2 separate regions of the Homo sapiens genome follow, and region 2 is linked to region 1. Evidence: promoter capture Hi-C in human tissues and cell types (Jung and others, 2019). All regions are on one chromosome and are shown on one strand. The core of a region is centred on a gene start or on the middle of the fragment in contact, and the rest is flanking DNA. Distances in the headings are between cores, read along the strand shown.

Region 1 (2,700 bases), core at 92-2,591:
TTTTGATAATTTTCCTGAAACAGAAAAATAGACTATACAATTACTAATCCAAACATCACCTGAGAAGTCATACATTGTTATGCATCCATGATATTGACAGTCTCTAAGTTGCATTTAGTGCATTCATCCTTATGATATTTTACTAATCACTTTTGGAAGTTATGATTTATTAATTATAGCTGTGGTTCATCTCACTTCAAATTTCATTCACAATGTTGCCCACACACAGTCTGTTGATTTTTCAAGCGCTTATAGATATTAAACAGCAAGGCAGTGTTTTGAGGCGGTAAGTTAATAGAACTTGCTAGTATAAATGTACTATAGTCCACTGGAGAGTAATTTTAACTTCACTGAAGTTGGAGCGCTTTGAAAATCAGGAAAAAAAAAGTAACATTTAAATGTATGAATATAAAGGACTATAGATTTTTGTATTGCTGTAACCCTTTTTCTTTCCGAAAGTATGTGCAACTCTAAAGGCACTTAGTGCTGAATGCTATGGAGATTGGGAAACCCTTTAAAGCCTCTATTCTTTCCTGCCGAACAGCAAGACTGCTCGAATGTCAATCCATGCTTTGCTTCTACAGGGTCGCTGTAAGACTCTATGTGGGAGGTGAATACATTTATGCTACGATTTTTTTAAAATATATAAAATAAAATAGAGTTTACTTTGTGAAAATGCATGGCCACGAAGGAACAGAAGGTGATCAGCCTGCAGCCTGAGCTCCTAGTTTCACCACCGATGGGCAGAGGCGAGAGAGATGAGAGCTCTCAATGAAACGGTGATGCTATTTATAAGGCGCTGTGAGATCGCAATGTCCTGCTGATCCGGTAGGAGCCAGCTCAAAGGGGATTGTCTTCAGAGACTTTTACAAACTTGGCCCAGCTCTGGGCACATGGCTCACCCCCTAGGACCGCCTCCTCACCCCCTCGCCGGCTGCCCAGCCAGGACACTCCCCCGCGCCCTCCAGGGTTGCCTACCTGTCTGCAGCACAGCCGCGGGTCCCGTCCGGAAGGGGCAGGAGCGCTCGCGCGTGCAGCCAGGGGGCCGGCGCCAGGTCGTGGGCGTCGCCCCTCCCCTGGGCAGCGCCACACACCTGGGCGGCCAGCGGCGAATCCCGGGCAGCCGCCCTGCTCGCGGCGCTCTGCCCATCTTGCAGGGAAGTGGTCATTGTCGCCGGCCGGGGGGCTCGGGCGTCATGGGAGACTCGGCGCGTGGGGAGAAGGGGTTTGCGCGGCGGGAGGCGAGGTGCCGGCTAGGCAGCCCGAGCGCTCTGCAGGTGTGGTGGCCTCGCCGCCTGCGCTCGGGGCCCCGGCGGCTGAGACGCGCGGCCGAGCTATCTGCGAGGCGGCGGGGGAGGGGAGGGGGCGGAGGAGGAGGGTGGGGAGAGGGGAGGAGCGGCCGGTGGGTGGGGGCCGCGGGCGGCGAGGCAAGGCGCGGAGGGGGCGGGGAGGGCGCGAGAGCGGCTGGCCGGCCCCGCGCGTGGCCCGGGGCGCTCGGGGCCACTGGCATTGCTCCCGCGCCGTCCCATCCGGGACGCGAGGCCGGGACCGCTGCCTCCTCAGGTGGGCACCGGGGCGCGAGGCTGAGCCCAGGGTCTGGGCGGCCCCGGCGCCGCTGGAGGCGGGGACCCAGCCGAGCGGGCGCTCCCGCTGGGCTTGCCGGGAGGACCGCAGGCGGGATAGGGGTCCGCGCAGCCCTGACCCTCATACCCTTGCATTCTTTCTGCTCTGCCATCTGAGATCACCTAAGCTGTTGCTGGGCCGCCATGACAGTCCCCACCGGGCCAGGAGGCCAGGACACCAGAGGGTTTGCCCCAGTCCTTCCCCACGTGCCTCTTCTTCCATCCACTCCGCAGCCAAAGATTGGGGGGTTGATAGGGAGCAAGGAGTCCAATCATTATAGAAAACTACTGAGATTTTGAGAATTCTCAGTAAAGCATGAGTAAACCTGAAGGTGTCTGGAATTAGAAAGACTATTAGTTTTATGGTAATGAGAGAAGCTTACATTAATGAATTCCAGGTTGCCTTACGCTACCTATTCCATCCTCTCAACAGCTCCATAAATTAGATGTTTATCTCATTTTACACAAAAGGAAACTGGGGCTCAAAGCCATCGAGTACCTTGCACTAGTAACATAGCACTAGTAGCTGGTGGAGTCAATATTCCAACCCAGAAGCTTCCTTCTCAAAAACCCAGACTGTTCGAAATAGTAATGACATTATTATGCTCACCCTCTGAGATGCAGCAACCCTACTCTGAAATGCTGGGTGATCCTGTTTCTGCTCTTCCAGTAAGTGTGCCCGTCCCTATGCACCGTTGAGGATTTCCAAATGTTTCACAGGGTCTTTGTTCTTTGACCAAATTAGGTAATATCTGTCCCTGGCATCTGCTTTACCAGGTTTTCTTAATTTCAACAACCTCTGCCCAGGGAAAGGTAAACACTGCCTCCAGAAGAAAGCAGCAGCTCCCCTCCCCCATCTCAGTGCATTCTCTCCCACCGAGGCACCGACCACTGGAGAACCCAGGGGTCACTAATTCCCAACCTGTGAGGAAACCTGGGGCACTCCGTGAAGACAGAAAATCCTTGAGTCACAGTTCAGGGAATCCAAGTTCTTTATTTTCCTAATGTCAAAATTAAGGCCCAGAAGTGACCTGGGTCACAGCGGGTGTGATCTCTGGGATCTTTTATACCAGGGGTC
Region 2 (2,700 bases), core at 35-2,534, 35 kb after region 1:
GAGTGTCATCACCTTTTGCTCCAAGAATATTTGCAATCTTTCCCAAAGGAGGGAGAAAAGATTCTGTATTGGCTTAAAAGATTCTGTATTGGCTTAAAAAGGCTGAATCATTCTCAGAGGTGAGATCTAGGCTACTGAAGGAATGACTCAGAGGAGGTGAATTAAACAGAAAGTTCCCAAATTTCCTCATAGTAAACCTTGGAACCTAGTCTCTCATGAAAGGGTTTCTGTACCAAGAACCTACATCCTTGGGAAAGGTGTTTCCTGAGTTTGCTGTCTGCTAGTTTATACACTCTCTCTAGACAATCAATCTGTGCTGTAGTTCAGAAAGCAAAATGAGATGATGTAAAAAAAAAATTCTCACATTTCTGCTCACACAATGGAAAATTAGATGCAGAAGCACTACATTTAACCAACTTTGTTCAACAATCTTTAGTTACACCTGTTTTATACACACACACAAAACAAGTCATTGGAACATCAAAATGTTAGCCCACTTGGTTCATTAGGAGTTTCATGATATTCGTGCAGTGGGTACTGCCAAGTCCTGGGCATATGGCTCCACCATGTGGATGAGACTCTGCAAATAATACTGACAATATTTTTTTTTCTTTTTTTTAAGACAGAGTCTTGCTCTGTTGCCCAGGATGGAGTGCAATGGCCCAGTAATGGCTCACTGCAGCCTTGACAGCCCAAGCTCAAGTGATCCTCCCACCTCAGCCTCCTGAGTAGCTAGGACCGCAGGCATGCACCACCATGCCTGGCTAATTTTTAAATATTTATTTATTTATTTATTGTAGGAACAGTGTCTCCCTGTTGCCCAGGTTGGTCTCGAACTCCTGGTCTCAAGTGATCCTCTCACTTCAGCCTTCCAAAATGCTGGGATTTTAGGTATGAGCCACCATGTCCGGCTGACAATAATTTTTAAAAAAGAATTTAAAGTTATAATAAAAATCAGAGATCATAGGTCAAACCCTTATTTTATAAATGAAAAGAGTTAAAGCAATTATATGAACTAATTCACTCTTAATTCACCCATTCAATCATTTTAATTATTGAATAATGAGATTAATATGTTCAGTGGGTATTTGCTTTATTTTTGTCTACATATAATCTAAGCCCCTTTTCTACTTGGGAGCAATTTTGTTGTGTAAATGTGGTGGGGCAAAAACCCCACTTCCCTCTAGGGAATGGGAAAGAACATTTAACCTCTCTTCTCACCCCATGAACTAAGATATAGGCATGTCTCTTAGTAAACCAACAGGATATTCAATGCAGGAATGTTGGATCTGTAGTAAGTGACATATTGGGATAGTTAGAGGTTGTTCTGGAGGAGGCAGTAAAACTTGACTAGGTCAAGTAGTCATAGTAGTGGTAGCTGTTCATGCCAGCAGCAATGGTGAGGACCTAGTGGTGGCACTGCTAGTGACAATGTCCTATCAAGCTGTTACTGAGATATAAGTTTAGATACATTTTCTCTTCCCACTCTCTAAGGCCCATTTCCTGAGCGTGGTTATTTAGCCTTCCTATGGACTGTCTGAGCCAACCTATATTCTTCCAGTGTAGTTCTTTTCTGGTTAGTAAAGCCAGAGTCTGTTTTTGTTGTGCAGCAAAAGACCCTCATTTAAACAGAAATTGTTACCAGTCGCTAGTTACAGCACAGAGCCTCAGTGAAATGGGCAGAATCTAGGGTTTGTATCTGACCTTGTTGAGGCTGAAGGAATTTTAAATCCTAATCATTTTAGGGATGGAATTTAGATCTGCCTCATCCTAGCATGGAAAAGTGAAACAGCTAATTAAATTATTTCCTGTGGTCACCTGGAACAAATCCTACTACCCTGTAGTTGTCACATGCTGTGTGGTTGCCAAGACAGGCTGCGTGTAGATGCCCCAGTCACCAGTCCTAGTCTTTGAGTCAGACCAGTTTAGGTACTAGATATGTGAATGAACAAGCTTTCAGATGCTTCCAGCCCACAGTCATTGAGTCATCCCCAGGCTTCGAGACTTCCTAACTGAGGTCACAGACATCATGGAGCAAAGATAAATTGTCTCCCACTCCAATTCCTTACCCACAGAATCCATGATTAGAATAAAGTGATTGTTTTAAAACACAAAGCTGTGGGTTAATTTTTTATGCAACAACAATAACTAGAACAGGAACCTACACCAATTCAGCTGTTAAGGCACTGGTTAGACAGCCAGGCACTTGAAAATAGTGAACTCGGAGCATTGTGGAGGAAGTTTAGGGAAAGGGTATGCTGAAGGGGTATGACCCTTTATAGTGAGCCCAGAACGAGAATATATTTCTTGGAAAGTTATATTCACCACAAAGCCTCTAGTGTGAATAAGGTGACCCACTCAGTAGACATAGGTCACCCTTCTTTCTCAGAAAATTACAGTGGACTCAAGAACCACATGTTCATCATGGAAGGAATGAAGGTTATTCATGGTTTCAACAACATGGAGTTCTTACCAATGGTAATATGGCTACGGTCTTTACAAATGATCCATTTTTTTTTTTTGCAGTTGCAAGATTTGATAGAGTGAAGTAGAGTGAAAACAGAGCTCCCATACAAAGGGAGGGGACCCAAAGGGGGTTGCTGTTGCCGGCTTGAATGCCTGGGTTTATATCCCGATCATTGTCCCTCCCGCTGTGCTCTCAGGCAACAGGTGATTGGCTATTTCTTTACCTCCTGTTGT

The links. The method cuts DNA at HindIII sites, captures the fragments that hold promoters and counts their contacts. A contact is called where the count stands out against the background at its distance.
Region 2: a fragment that was not itself captured here is called in contact with the fragment with the promoter of GRB14 in region 1 in 1 of the 25 tissues and cell types used here (hippocampus).

What each region holds. Positions count from the first base shown.
Region 1 is chr2:164,620,141-164,622,840 of GRCh38, forward strand. GRB14 (growth factor receptor bound protein 14) reads right to left here and starts at 1,342. Exons shown (of 14, transcript NM_004490.3): 1 at 979-1,342. The coding sequence starts at 1,169. The HindIII fragment of the contact is 12,551 bases long and covers 1-2,700 here.
Region 2 is chr2:164,655,390-164,658,089 of GRCh38, forward strand. It overlaps a transcript of COBLL1 not described here. Among named protein-coding and RNA genes, the nearest start is that of SNORA70F, 31 kb to the right of the region's middle. The HindIII fragment of the contact is 5,343 bases long and covers 1-2,700 here.